Regions from separate parts of the Homo sapiens genome. Here all the other regions are linked to region 4. The links are contacts of gene promoters, found by promoter capture Hi-C in blood cells and fetal thymus (Javierre and others, 2016). All regions are on one chromosome and are shown on one strand. Each heading gives the region's core, a stretch centred on a gene start or on the middle of the fragment in contact. The rest is flanking DNA. Distances are from core to core; before and after follow the strand shown. Region 1 overlaps GUCY2D (guanylate cyclase 2D, retinal). Region 2 holds the start of ALOXE3 (arachidonate epidermal lipoxygenase 3). Region 3 has its middle 34 kb from the start of CNTROB. Region 4 holds the start of ATP1B2 (ATPase Na+/K+ transporting subunit beta 2).

The links. Contacts are between HindIII fragments. The CHiCAGO score rates a contact against its expected background, and 5 or more counts as called.
Region 1: a fragment that was not itself captured here is called in contact with the fragment with the promoter of ATP1B2 in region 4 in 1 of 17 cell types (activated CD4 T cells); the score reaches 6.1 in activated CD4 T cells.
Region 2: the fragment with the promoter of ALOXE3 here is called in contact with the fragment with the promoter of ATP1B2 in region 4 in 1 of 17 cell types (naive CD8 T cells); the score reaches 6.7 in naive CD8 T cells.
Region 3: a fragment that was not itself captured here is called in contact with the fragment with the promoter of ATP1B2 in region 4 in 1 of 17 cell types (activated CD4 T cells); the score reaches 6.1 in activated CD4 T cells.

Annotation. Positions count from the first base shown.
Region 1 is chr17:8,016,810-8,020,156 of GRCh38, reverse strand. GUCY2D (guanylate cyclase 2D, retinal) reads right to left here. Exons shown (of 20, transcript NM_000180.4): 20 at 1-29. Among named protein-coding and RNA genes, the nearest start is that of GUCY2D, 16 kb to the right of the region's middle. RefSeq lists a silencer at 3,242-3,347. The HindIII fragment of the contact is 1,311 bases long and covers 1,285-2,595 here.
Region 2 is chr17:8,117,028-8,120,745 of GRCh38, reverse strand. It overlaps ALOXE3 (arachidonate epidermal lipoxygenase 3), which reads left to right and starts at 2,232. Exons shown (of 16, transcript NM_021628.3): 1 at 2,232-2,260; 2 at 2,443-2,902. The coding sequence starts at 2,756. It overlaps TRK-TTT3-5 (tRNA-Lys (anticodon TTT) 3-5), which reads right to left and starts at 1,591; the gene lies at 1,519-1,591. It overlaps TRQ-CTG1-5 (tRNA-Gln (anticodon CTG) 1-5), which reads right to left and starts at 994; the gene lies at 923-994. It overlaps HES7 (hes family bHLH transcription factor 7), which reads left to right. Exons shown (of 4, transcript NM_001165967.2): 4 at 1-154. It also overlaps TRL-TAG1-1. RefSeq lists silencers at 296-505, 876-965, 1,096-1,145 and enhancers at 1,666-1,765, 1,916-1,985, 2,066-2,145, 1,867-3,066. The HindIII fragment of the contact is 2,695 bases long and covers 920-3,614 here.
Region 3 is chr17:7,964,564-7,968,258 of GRCh38, reverse strand. No RefSeq gene overlaps it. Among named protein-coding and RNA genes, the nearest start is that of CNTROB, 34 kb to the right of the region's middle. RefSeq lists a silencer at 221-421. The HindIII fragment of the contact is 609 bases long and covers 1,355-1,963 here.
Region 4 is chr17:7,649,638-7,653,247 of GRCh38, reverse strand. It overlaps ATP1B2 (ATPase Na+/K+ transporting subunit beta 2), which reads right to left and starts at 2,322. Exons shown (of 7, transcript NM_001678.5): 1 at 1,618-2,322. The coding sequence starts at 1,729. RefSeq lists enhancers at 1,752-2,394, 2,669-3,169, 3,170-3,610 and a silencer at 2,263-2,412. The HindIII fragment of the contact is 15,564 bases long and covers 1-3,610 here.

The DNA.
Region 1 (3,347 bases), core at 691-3,190, 370 kb before region 4:
CAGATGGGACAGGGAGCAGGGCCCAGACCCTAAGGAGAAGCACAAAAAAAAAAAAAAAAAAAAAAAAGGCGCCAGGTGAGCCCCGGGACACGCTGTAGAGTCTCTGCCGTGGGATTGAAGCAGCAGCTATGAGAGGTCCCTGCTTTGGCCATCACTGCTCTGCCAGCTACAGAGCCATCTCCAAGGCAAGGACAACCGCAAGTGTGGGCTCCTGGCGCAGGCCAGCTGGCAGAGGTAGTGTAAACACATCTGAAGGTGGGGGATGCCCAGTGACCAAGCCAGGCCCCGGTGCTCTCATGCGCTGGGAGTTGCCCAGGCCACAGGAACAGGGTGGGGAGGACTTGAGTCAGCAGAGCCCTGAGACTGGATAACCGACTGGGTCCAGGAAATAAGATTTCCAGAGAAATGGTGGAAACTGCAGAGAAAGGCAGACAGAGACTGCCAGGCAGAAAGGGGACTGTGGGGACACAAAGACAGGAGAATAGAGCAGAAAGGGAGGCAGGAACAGAGAAAGGAGAGGCTGAGGCACAGAGAGGAGGCTGAGGCTTCATCTTTTGCCTTCTCTTCTCCCACTAGATCTGTGAACTCTGGGGTGGGGGTTCCCCAAGTTCTTCTAGCTGGGGAGGGGTCAGGGCTCTTCTATCACATCTGGTCACTTGAGCTTGAGGCCAGCCTGGGAAGGAGGCTGAGTGAAGGTGGGAAGGAACTGGCTCAGCCCTGCCCACTCCACTTCTACCTTAAACTGGGTCTGCCCTCTGGCTCATCCGCCTCTGCTTCCGGGAGGAGCCCTGCCTAAGCCTGTCCCAGCTAATCCCTCTGCACCTAATCCTGGACTCTTCCTTGAGGCAGCCGAAATCACACACCATTAACTACTCCAGGCCCTTGCAGGCAGGGAGAGAGGGAAGGAAGGGGAAGGGCTGCAGGGTCGGGTACGGGAGGGAAGAGACAGGAGGCTGAGAGCTCTATCCACACAGTCAGGTCCAAGGCCAGAGATGTGAATCTGCGCTTCAATCCCTGGGACCTAAGTACAGAGAAAATCTTAAGGAAAATCTTCAAGAATGTAAATAACTTTTAAAAATGTGTGTGTGTGCATGCCCGGGTTTTGTTTTGTTTTTAATCTTTAATTCATCGTATTTAAATTCAATTTAAAATGTTTTTAAAATTGCACTAAATTGCTCTCTGTAGCAACATCACCTTCGGTAACCAGAACTTACAAGTGCTGGATTCTCGATGTTTGATACATTCTTCCTTCACCTTTAGGAAGGAGGGGAATACCACTAAGCTTGTGGAAGTCATGAATCAGTTTAAAAAAAAAAAAAAGAAGGCAAAGTCCCGTCCAGGAGCCCCTGTAATCCTAATACCTGCTAAGGAGTCCTAAGCTCAATGTCTACAGGCACCAGGCAGGAATATAAAGGAATGTTCAAAAAATCTTGGTGTCTCGGAGTCTGTGGGGAGTGGCGACATCTGGATAAAGGGGACTGTTGCTGTTTAGCTGCAGCAGAATGTGGTTAAGTGGTGACACAAGCACCATGTGGGGCTTCTGATTTCAAGAGAAGGGGGAAATCTGCTATACATTTTTAAAATGTGGAAGCTGTTGATTTTTAAATGTTAGCTCAAAACAAAACACTCTATAGGCCAAACAAAAGAAATTTGGTGGCTAGTTTGTAGCCTGGCTTTATGAGATCTTAGAGATTCTAAGATTTAAAGATCTTAGGGTGATTTAGTTCTATGATTCAGAAACTTTAATGAGCGTGTCAATATTTTGTAGGAACTTGTTAAAATGCAGATCCAGACTCAGCAGGTCTGGGGTGGGGCCCTGAGATCCTTCATTTCTAATGAGCTCACAGGCAGTGCCGACCCTGGCCCACCAACCACACTTGGTGTAGTGAAGGTTCAGTTCCGGAATTCCCTCTCACTGTCGTATCCCTGGTCAATGATGTCTCCAGTTCTGCCTTCACACCTCCAGGGACTGGACACTCACTACCTCTGGTGGCAGCCTAGGTGGTTTCCTAGCCTGCTGCAAACTTCTTCCAGGGTCTGTAGCAATGGTGACAGACACCAAGAGTCAAATGTGCCAAGGCCCAGGCTCTGGAAGGTCAGAGTTTCACAAAGGCAACTTCAACTGGGGACTTGCCAGGACAGGGCATTGATAATTGCTGCAAAGGTCAGGCGCGGTGTCTCACACCTGTAATCCCAGCACTTTGGGAGGCCAAGGTGGGCAGATCACTTGATGTCAGTTCAAGACCACCCTGGGCAACATGCTGAAACCCCATCTCTACTAAAATCACACAAAAAAATTACCCGGGCGTGGTGGCGGGTGCCTGTAATCCCAGCTACTCGGCAGGCTGAGGTAGGAGAATCACTTGAACCTGAGAGGAGGAGGTTGCAATGAGTCGAGATTGTGTCACTGCACTGCACTCCAGCCTGGGTGACAAAGTGAGACTCAAAAAAAAAGAAAAAATTCTAAGCAGAGAGGATTTTCTGTCCAACTGCTTGCTCAGCAGCTCCTAGTTAAACAGAGAATGCCGCTCTTTGGATGTTCTGGTCAGTCAAGGTGTGGCACAATTTCCTTTCCTCAAAGCATTGAAGCAAGCTTTTCTCTGCACTTGGGCAAGTTCCCTGATTATACCCACAGGAGAAGCAGCCAGTTTCTGACTGGTGGGAGATGGAGATAGGAATGAAGCTTGAGGCTAAACAGGAGCCCTTGCCCCCTCAGGCCATGTGACAAACCCTGCTCTGGTGGAACAGAACTCCACTTCCTCTGGGGTCGGGCATCAATCCCAGATCCTCCTTCCTGGGTCCCTGAGAGACACTGGGAAGCGGAGAATCCCTGACCCTCACATCCCCTGCTGGACTCAGGGCTCCTGGGGGTGAGGGCCACAAGCCACCCAGCTGTCAGGTGCACAGGGGCCTTGGGAACCACTTAGGCCACCCCCCATTTTGCCACTGAAGGGATCACAGCAGAGCATGCGTGACACTTTCCCAAGGTCACATGGCTGGTTTTGCAACCAGCTCTTGTAAAAGGCCCAAAATCCTTTGAGGCAGAGCTGGGCAGAGTCCACCAGCATTAGACAGACTTCCAGTCACCTATAGCAGCAACTTTCAGGAAAAGGACCTTCCAGAACAATCCTGAAGAAAAGAGGGGTATCTCAGAGGGGAGTCGAGGAAAGGGGTCATGGGGGTTCACCTAGGAAGGAGCGGGTCACGGGTCAGTTTCTTGCAGGAGGGGAGTGGGCACGGCTTCTGCTTTCACATTGTTCTCTGGTGACTGCTGCCCCCTAGAGTTGTCTCTTGTGCAGTGCACAGCCTGTGAGGCTTCTGCGGAAGCCAGGTTTATGCACTGGGGA
Region 2 (3,718 bases), core at 983-3,482, 470 kb before region 4:
GCACATGGGTCGAAAAAACAGGGAGGGAGAGCAACCGAAAATGGCTGAGCGAGCGAGTGCAGAGCTCCGGCTGCCCGCTTGGGGGGTGTTTCCGGCTCAGGCGCTCCCCACTCCCAGATATAGTCCCACCCAAATAAACTAGTTTTGTTGTAAATTTCTGTGTGTTTTTGTCTCTTCTCGTTTATCTGTTCTGCCATCTGCTGCTATGCGGTCCACAGTCTCGATGGTTCTTCATTTCCAGTCTAAAAGATGTGGAAAAGGAGACGAATCAATTTGGCACTCTTAAGATTTGCCCCATTCCTTACTTCTAGTCTCTTAGGAGGACAACGGGGACAGTAAGTTTTCGTGCAGGTAGCGTGGCCGAGCGGTCTAAGGCGCTGGATTTAGGCTCCAGTCTCTTCGGAGGCGTGGGTTCGAATCCCACCGCTGCCAGGCTGGAGTTTTTCTGGTGGATTACGCACCTGCTACAGTTCTGTTAACAGTTCTGTGAGGTTACACCTATTTACATGCAGAAAGTAATTTTACGAATTCCCCTGGTAATGGTTTCACCATCATCTTCCGTGTTTGGTCTTCCAGAGAGATCATAGGCCTGCATCCATCCCAGAAGCTAAGACCTGATGGTAACTGCTGAAGCAATATTTCGTTTCTTCATAACATCTCTATTATTTCGTTTCTTCATAACATCTCTATTTTAACATGTTTTCAAATGTTAGCTCAACTTCCAACATATTTAAATAATTTATTGTACGTTCTCTTAACACTGTGTTATAGGACTCAATTATCCGGTAGGAAAAGCACAAATAATTGGTAGTGTCCTAGTTTACTTTTTTTTTTTGTCGTATTATCTTGGGTCATAGGAGTATCCCCTCTGTGAAAATCAATTAACAATATTCAACATGCTGATATTAAAAGAAAAGCTTCAAGGTTCCACCGAGATTTGAACTCGGATCGCTGGATTCAGAGTCCAGAGTGCTAACCATTACACCATGGAACCTCCCTCGTGGTGTCTTTCAAGATTGTGTACATTACTGGACATTCTATTTTGCGTGTCTTCCACACCCGTCACTTAAAACGAAAACAAAACAAAGTCTGCTGTTGGATATGGTAGACACCGTTATCGAGCACTTGAAATATATGAATTCAGATGTATTGCCAGCTTCTAAATACACATCTTCTTTTGAAGGAAGGCTTTGTACAAACAAAAAGACTTAAAATTTCATTAATATTTTTAGAATGTTGATTATATGTTAAAATAAGATTTTGGTATATTAGGGTAAGTAAAATAGATCCGTGAAATTAATTTCGCTTGCTTTTTATTCTTTGTAATGTGGCTACCAGAAAATGTAAATTCGATAATACGGCTCGCGTTTGTACTGTTTTAAAGTATGTTTATTACCCTCCACCGTCGTTTGCTGTATTTTGTGGAAATCAAGTTTCTGTATCACCTAGCTTTAAAAACTAGTAACTATTTTTGTTACCATTTTATGCGAAGTGCGGTACCCAAAAGCAAAGACATGCCGCCCGAACAGGGACTTGAACCCTGGACCCTCAGATTAAAAGTCTGATGCTCTACCGACTGAGCTATCCGGGCTCTTCACGAGAGCTTTACTTTTTGCTTATAAGAGGGTTCTCTATAGGAAAAGCCAGGCTTGTAGAACCGACAGAGGATTTTATCTGTGCAGCATAGAATATTTTGGCACAGATTTGGAAGCAGCGGGTGAAGCTCGCCTGCTGCTGATTGAGCTTTTTCTGCCTCCCGTTCTTAGAGCCCCCGCCGAGGCTGCGACGCAGGGACTGTACCATAGTAGAGGCTGGAACAGTGCGGCGCCGGAACCGGCCGCGCGGGGCCGCTGCGGGCTATGGGCTTCTCTGAGAGGTTCCTCCCCAGTCCCTAGTGGCCCAGATCCCGGACACCTGGGCTCCCGCCCAGGATCCTGCAGGCCCAGGGCGGTCCTGGAGCGGAAAGAATGCCACGCGGGGCATTCAGACCCTGTTTGCCGGCGCTGTATTTCGCTTTCCTGACCTGCCCTACTCCAGAGCAGAGAATGAGGTCGGGCGTGCCAAAGGCTGGGGACAAAGAGGGCCATGCGTGGGGGGATCGGTGTATGGGGTGACAGGGAGCTGTTCCTGACCATTTGACATGTGCTGGAATGCGTGTGCGACTCACCTGCGTGTGGCTGCAGTCACGTGTGATTTATGACCAAGTGCAACTCTCCACTGTTTAGTGATTCACACGGATGATTCACACGTAGGAATGCAGGTGCCCTGTGCTCATCTCTGCCTGGGAATGGGGAGGAACAGATCTTGGGGGACATTGGGGAGTGGGCGGACAAGCACTCCAGGGCATCAGTCCGGGCCGCTGACCAGGCGGAGGGCAGTGTCCCAATTATACAGGCGTTACCTCCTTTTCTCCATCTCAGCATCTGATCCCTCCCTCCGCAGTGGAACCCAGGCTCCTGATATCCATCTGGGTGAGCCAGCCAGAGGGACCGGCTGTGTCAGAGGCAAGCAAACAAGTATTAGAGTGCAAGACTGTGGGCGGAGAGAGGAAGCCCGAGCCGCCAGCAGGGAGCTTCGGAGAGAGAAAGCCCAGGAACATCCCAGAGAGAGCTGGGCCCATCCTCAGCCCTACCCAGCCCCGCAGCCCCTAGCCCTCCGCCCAGAAACCCAGCCCTGTCCGGCGTGCCGCTCTTCTCCTCCAGGCCGGCTGCTGCTGCGGCCAGCGTTGCCGGGGCATCCCTTCCTCCTTCCCATCATGGCAGTGTACCGCCTGTGTGTGACCACTGGTCCCTACCTGAGGGCCGGCACACTGGACAACATCTCTGTCACACTGGTGGGCACGTGTGGTGAAAGCCCCAAGCAGCGGCTAGATCGAATGGGCAGGGACTTCGCCCCTGGATCGGTGAGTACAAAGGAGACAGGGAAGCGCGACCTCAGAGGGGCAGGGGCCGCAGGCGGGAGGAGTATTCCTCCTGGACTCTTGAGATCCTGCTGAACTCAGGATACCGGCCCTGACCTCCTCACCTTCCCTATTGAGGTCCCTGTCTTTCCTGGAGATGATGAACTCCATCCAGGCAGGACTGTGGAGAGGAAGGAGCGTTGGACAGGGAGTAGAGGGACTTCCCCTGGCTCCTAAACTCCTCCCATAATTGACCGTGGGCTTTGGGCAAGTCGCTTCCCCTCTCTGAGCCTGGGTTTCCTCTTATCGAGGGGATCTGCCTGCCTCTGCCAGCCCCAGGTGGCCTCCACAAGAGTTCCCAGCCGGCCTAGGAAGCTAGTGAAATGCAGTGCCCACTGTGCTCGGGCACCTTTTTCTTTTCTTTTTGAGATGGAGTTTTGCTCTTGTTGCCCAGGCTGGAGGGCAGTGGTGTGATCTCAGGTCACTGCAACCTCCACCTCCCGGGTTTAAGCGATTCTCCTGCCTCAGCCTCCCAAGTAGCTGGGATTACAGGCGCCTGCCACGACGCCCGACTAATTTTTTGTATTTTTAGTAGAGAAGCGGTTTCATCGGGCAGGCTGGTCTCAAACTCCTGACCTCAGGTGATCCACCCGCCTCGGCCTCCCAAAGTGTTAGGATTACAGGCGTGAGCCACCTCTCCCGGCCCGGGGAAGCTTTTTCTAATTCATACAAAAGCCCGGTATGGGCTGGGAGCAGCTCAGGTTTGTATGCCCGAATAGGCTTAGGTGTAGATGCATCTTGCAAGGCGCAAGGACCGCC
Region 3 (3,695 bases), core at 410-2,909, 320 kb before region 4:
CAAACAAAAAAACAACTATCCCTCGTTGGCCTGGTTCTGTCTCAAGTAGTTTTGCAACTCATGTAAGTGCAGTAGATAGTCTCCAAAGGTGGCTACTATTTGAGATAGGAAATATCAACACTTATGATGTTTCTGACACCAAAATATGTGTGTGTGTGTGTGTGTGTTGGAGTGAGAGGTCCCCACACATCAAGCAGTTCTGCAGCAGATACTAGCTGGGTGTCAATAATTCAATTCAATTCTGACACTATCCACTTGAAGATAGCATCAGATCCCAGACTGTCCAGCGGAGTTGAGGCTTCAGATTGGCTGACACTGCAAATCCTGAGTGAGAGTTATCAGGTTAAGTCCAGCAACCCACAGAACCATGAGCAACAATCACATATTTTTGCTGAAGCCACGAAGTTTTGGGGTGGTTTGTCACATAGCAATACATAGAGCAATATGTTATCCTGAGGCCAGTCACCTGACAACTGCCTGAAACCAGAGGTAATGGTTAGCAAAAACTTCTGTAACCAAATCTAGTGCTGTATACCAGGAACTAGTGATTTGTTTTATTACCTAAATTTAAAACCCCTTAATATGCCTCCCAGTTACCTGGTTCAAGACACCAGAAAAGAAAATGAGAGGAGGGTCCGGGTGCGGTGGCTCACGCCTGTAATCCCAGCACTTTGGGAGGCCGAGGCGAGTGGATCAAGAGGTCAGGGGTTCGAGACCAGCCTGACCAACATAGTGAAACCCCGTCTCTATTAAAAATACAAAAAAAATTTAGCCGGGCGTGGTGGCAGGCGCTTATAGTCGCAGCTACTCGGGAGGCTGAGGCAGGAGAATGGTGTGAACCCGGGAGGCGGAGGTTGCAGTGAGCCAAGTCGTGCCACTGCACTCCAGCCTGGGCGACAGACTGAGACTCCGTCTCAAAGAAGAAAAAAAAAAGAAAAAGAAAATGAGGGGAGGAGAAGAACAATGGAAAAATGGGAACAGGCTGGGCCCAGTGGCTCACACCTGTAGTCCCAGCACTTTAGGAGCCCGAGGCAGGTGGATCACCTGAGGTCAGAGTTCAAGACCACCCTGGCCAATATGGCAAAACCCTGTCTCTACTAAGAATACAAAAATTAGCCTGGCATGGTGGCGCATGCCTGTAATCCCAGCTACTCAGGAGGCTGAGGCAGGAGAATCGCTTGAACATGGGAGGCGGAGGTTGCAGTGAGCCAAGATTGCACCACTGCACTCCAGTCTGGACAACAGAGCAAGACTCTTTCTCAAAAAAACAAAACAAAACAAAACAAAAACAGAAGAAGAAGAAGAGTAGGAACAGCATAACAACATGAAAGCCCGAAAAATAAATACCTAAGCTTTCTTAAACAATACTTTACATCTATACTTACGTGATGTACCTCTATCATTAGTCATTGTGAATGACTGATGTTTATAAGTGACAGAAAAACAGAAATGAAAGACAATTCCAAATAACTGCAAATGTTATAATTAGATTACAAAAGAAATGCCTTTTTTTTTTTCTTTTTGAGGCAGAGTCTGTCTCTGTTGCTCAAGCTGGAGTTCCGTGGCACGATCTCGGATCATTGCTACCTCCGCCTCCTGGGTTCAAGCGATTTTCCTGCCTCAGCCTCCCAAGTAGCTGGGATTACAGGTGTATGCCACCATGCCCAGCTAATTTTTGTATTTTTAGTGGAGACAGGGCTTCACCATGTTGGCCAGGCTCATCTCGAACTCCTGACGTCAGGTGATCCACCTGAGGAGGCCTCAGCCTCCCAAAGTGCTAGGATTACAGGCGTGAGCGACCGTGCCTGGCCGAAATGCCTTATTTTAAACACTTAAGAAAAATAAAGTACATGTAATGTCAAAAAAAATTCCATTTATAAAAGCGATTAAAAAATCTTTAAAATATCTGAGAAAAGATTAACACAAAATGTTCAGGACTTATAAATTGTAAAATCATGAAGCTTTAAGAATAAAAACAGAAAGGGATGCATGGAAAGAAAGAACAAAAATGAGAAATGCACTATTATCAAGAGGAAAATTGTCCTAAATTAATTTGTATTATATCTTGTTTCTTTGATGCCTTCATTTATTATCTCTAGTAATTTTGAGGTGCTTTTCATTTCATTTGCATAACATGATCATTTTATTTCTTCCTTTTCTTTATGTATATCTTTCTTTCTCTTCTCAAATAGCTTTGTCAGAATTTTTAGAGCTACGTTGAATAGTAGTAATAAGATATCCTTGTCTTGTTCCTATTTTAAAGAGGAATAATTCATGTTCTCCATTAAGTGTAATTTTGACTTTTGGTTTTCAATAGAGCCTTTTTGTCATGTTAAAGAGGCAACCTTTTATTGCTTTTAGGGAGAGTTTCCATGAAGAATTCCCTCTGGCATTTGTGGAAATAATTATATGAATTTTTTCCAATAATATTATTGGTTATGTGGAAAATTGAGCTTTAGTGGGGGATGTTTATAAGTGACAGAAAAACAAAAATGAAAGACCATTTGAAATAAGTTCAAAAACAGAATTGGTTAAAAAGTACATGTTCTTTTTTTCTTCTTTTTTGAGACAGGGTCTTACTCTGTCACCCAGGGTGGACTGCAGTGGCATGATGATAGCACTGATCTCAATCTCCCGAGCTCAAGCAATCCTCCCGCCTCAGTTTCCAGAGTAGCTGGGACTATTTTTAGTACAGATGAGGTCTGCTATGTTGCCCAGGTATGGAACTCCAGAGCTCAATCGATTCTTGCGCCTCAGCCTCTCACACTTTTGGGATTACAGGTGTGAGCTACCACACCTTTAAAATTCCTTTAAAAATTATACTTTATTAAAATTTATACTATATTCTGATTGCTAAAATTTTATTTAGAATGTTTGCATATCTACTAATTTATGAGATTACCATGTAAACTATTTTTTATGCTGTTTCATTAGGTGTGATGATAAAAATCTGTTTCATCAAAGGAAATGAGACAATTTATTTAAAAGGTAATATAGGCCAGGTGTGGTGGCTCACGCCTGTAATCCCAGCACTTTGGGAGGCCGAGGCGGGCAGATCATGAGGTCAGGAGTTCGAGACCAGCCTGACCAACGTAGTGAAATCCCGTCTCTACTAAAAATACAAAAATTAACCCGGCATGGTGGTGCGTGCCTGTAATCCCAGCTACTCAGAAGGCTGAGACAGGAGAATTACTTGAACGTGGGAGGCAGTGGTTGCAGTGAGCCAAGATCACGCCATTGCACTCCAGCCTGGGTGACAGAGCGAGACTCCATCTCAAAATAAATAAAATAAAATAAAATACACTACAATATAAAGAGCAATAAAATTAAAAAAAATTTTTTTTAAACTCACTACATTGCCCAGGCTGGTCTCAAACTCCTGGCCTCAAGCAAGCCTGCCTCAGCCTCCCAAAATGCTGTGATTACAGGTGTGAGCTACCACGCCCAGCCTTTTAAAATATATATATATATAATGCTGGGCACGGTGACTCACACCTGTAATCCCAGCACTTTGGGAGGGCAAGGCAAATCACGAGGTCAGGAGTTCAAGACCAGCCTGGCCAACATGGTGAAACCCCAACTCTACTAAAAAAATACAAAAAATTATCCAGGCGTGGTGGCACGTGCCTGTAATCCCAGCTACTCGGGAGGCCGAGACAGGAGAATCACTTGAACCCAGGAGGCAGAGGTTGCAG
Region 4 (3,610 bases), core at 1,073-3,572:
TAGAGCCTTCCTCTGGAGGCAAAATGAGACAAACTGGAAACAGGCAGTTGTGTCTGGCTTCTAGCCATGACTCCCAGCCCCCTCCTGGTCCTAGGGCACAGTGAAGCCCGACCTTGTGGAGGTCTGTTATTTTGCCTCCAATTACATTTCCAACTTCTCAACCATGCATAGTCCTGACAAGGCACACATCTGTTACCTCTGCATTCGTACTCATGCTTAAAGCTGTGCTAGCATGGTGCCTTTTAAAGCGGGTACTGGCCACCATTCACAAGCAAACCCTCATACCACCCCGCAGAGACTGGACCCTCAGATTTGAATAGCAACATCTCTCTCCTGGTGCCCTTCAGAAGCCAAACTTTGAACACAGTTCCTGAAATGAAAGACCTAACACTAGCCTAGCTACAAATCTCTCAGAGACGGCTTGTTAGAACCTTCAACAGTCACCCCACCCTCAGTTCACACCCAGCACCCTGGGCAGAGGCAGGGAGGAAAGGCAGAATCTCCCACAGCCTTCCCTTGGTGGGATCTCTCCATGGCTCCCCCGCCTGAAGTAAGGACCCAAGGGCCGGCTGTTCCCACCACCCTGGACTCCCAATCCTTCCATCTCAGAGGACACTTCTTCCATGAAGTCCTCTGGCTCTCCCAAGCATTGCTGGATTCTTCTCATCCCAGGGGCTGGAGTTTGAGTTCCCTGAGGGAATGGATTGCATGGGACCCACTTCGTGTAGGCCCCGAATGGGTGGACTGATGGGGACGGTGCCCAGTGTGGAAAGATTGTAAATCGTGTCACACAGTGTCCTCTGTCCCCTGTGTCTCAACGTCCCAGCTTGACCATCCCTCTTGGAAGAATTCCACCCCTCACCTGCACCTGTGCCGGTCACCAGACCCCCTCCACCCCCCCAACCCCCGACCACTACAGCTCCCTGAGTCCTGCCATGGTCAGCCTGGGGAGGCTTCCAAGTCATCCGACTGTCACAGACACCTGGCTGGCTGATGCACACAAATCACCACAGCGACCACTCCTCCCTCCGTCACCGACATGGGAGCAAAACCTGCAGCCTCGGTAAAACTCATACTATCAGCAGCCCCCCAACCCACAAAGCAGTCCCAGAAGGCTCCCAAGGCCAGGCGGTGGGATACAGACAACTTCCGCCGTGAAGAACCCCCCTAACACACCCCCCAAGACCCGCCCCCTCATGAACGTTCCCAGGGTCCAGGGGGTGGGCACGAGCTAAAAATAGACGGGGCTGCGGAGCTAGTGAGAGCCGGAGGGAGGGAAGGGGCGCTCTTTGGAGGTGGGGGACGCCCGTGTGGAGCGGACAGGCCCCGAGAGGGAGTGTGAGCGCCGGCGCGGACACGCAGGCGGAGCTGGCGACCCCCCGCCCGAGGGGGCTCCGCGGGGGGCGGGAAGGCGGCTGTGACCTACTTTCTCCGCCTCCGCACGGCCAGCCGGGGAGATTAGACTGGCGATTCGGCCCCCTCCCAGCCCAGAGCCCGGCAGGGAGGCTGGACGCCGGGGACCCGGGAGGGGAGCTGGGGCCGCGTCGGCGGGACCCTGCGCCCCCGAGGCGTCGCCCCGCGGCTTTCCCCCGCCCCTTGCGTGCCGGCCCTGCGTACCCCAGCTGGTCCCGGTGCGGCCCATAAACTGGTGCGTCCTCGGGTTCCACACGAACTCCTTCCACTCCTCAACCACCTGCCCGCAGCTCTTCTTCTCTTTCTGGATGACCATCTTGGTGGCGCGGGGCGAGTCCGGGCGCGGGGCGGGGGGTTGCGGAGAAGCGGGGGCGCCGCGCGCTGAAGCCCTCCACACACCCAAAAGCACGGGGAGCGAAGGCGGCGCGGGCAAAGGAGACCCCCCTCAGATATGCAGCTGCTGCAGATTCCGGGGTGCACGACCACGCGCTGCGGGGTGCTGGCAGCGCGGCGGAAGATGCACCGATCCTAGGCCCCCCAACTGCGATGAAAAGGGGTGCTGTCAGAGCAGGGGAGAATAACAAGAGGAAGGGGTATGAATGCAGCTTCACCCCCCACCAAACCGTCTAGAAACAAAACGAAATGGGGTGCAAAAACAGACGGCTACAAAAACCGAGCAGAACGCAGAAAAAAAGCGGGGTACAAAAAGGCAGAGAGAGGTGGGGGAGGGGGCCGCCCCGAAATCCAAGATGCAAAGAAGCTGTGGAACGAAGCTCAAGGCTCGCTCCGCCAAGCGGAGACCACTGCACCGGTGGTGGCTCAGCCGCGGGGGTGGGGCGGGGACGCGCAGCTGGGGGACAGCCAGGGATGGGGGGCCCCCCAGGCGGAGGCTCCGCTCCTCAGCAGTGCGAGGCCCGCGGTCGCCGAGCGCGGTCTTTATACTCTGCGGCTCTGGGGGTGCCCGCCCCCTTCCCACCCCCAGAAGCTCCGCCTCCTCGCCACTGGCCCAGGCGACCTCATACATATGTAAATATGGAGAGGTTGGGCCCGCCCCCCTGACTTCTCTTAGGGACCTAGCTGTCTCTCCATTACCCCCACCCCAGGTACTAGACTGGGACAGGGTGGGAGGAAGAGATAGAGGGCGTGTCCGGGCGGAGTAGAGGGAAAGATAACCCCAGAGAAACACAACGGCAGAGAGAGAAGCCGATATATGCTCAAAGGTGGGGGCCCCAGGCAGGGAGTTAGAAAGAGACTAAGATACAGATGCGGCGGAAGAGTCCGGGAGCAGATGGGGCAGAATGTCAGAGGAATAAAGAGCTAGAGATCAAGAAAGAGAGCGAAGAGACCAGCCGGGAGGCTGGCCGAGCCAGGAGGGAAGCTAGGACAGGCCCCGCAGAGATGGATAAAGGCCACCCCCAGAGGGACGTTCCCCTGTTGGGAGCCGCTACCAGTCCCCCAGACGCCTCCTTCTCCAATCTCACAGCCCCTGTCCACACCACCTGGCTCTGTCCACGTGCAGAGGCTTCCCCATCTTCCCATCACGTCTCCCTGAAGCCCTCTCAACACCACATTCCCAGTCCCCAGCACTGCCCTGAGATCCCAGCCCTGCAGCCAGGTCTACTTCGGTTCTCTGCCTCCTGGCACCCCCACCCCCACGTCGGAACTCACCTCCTTATGTGTCTACTTGGGTCAACAAACATTTATTGAGCACCTCTATAGACTGTGTGCTGTAGCCCTGGGGAGGCCAGAGAGGTTACACTGAAGCCACATCTCTCACGGGGCTCACAGTCTAGGGCGGGAGTACACTTGCTCTACATACCACATGTTAAGAATCATTATCTCAAGCCGGGCACGGTGGCTTATGCCTGTAATCCCAGCATTTTGGGAGGCCGAGGCGGGCAGATCACGAAGTCAGGAGTTCGAGACTAGCCTTGCCCACATGGTGAAACCCCGTCTCTACTTAAAAATGCAAAATTAGGCCAGGCGCGGTGGCTCACGCCAGTAATCCCAGCACTTTGGGAGGCCGAGGTGGGTGGATCACGAGGTCAGGAGATCGAGACCATCCTGGATAACACAGTGAAACCCCGTCCCTACTAAAAATACAAAAAAAAAAAATTAGCTGGGCGTCGTGGCGGGAGCTTGTAGTCCCAGCTACTTGGGAGGCTGAGGCAGGAGAATGGCATGAACCCGGGAGGCG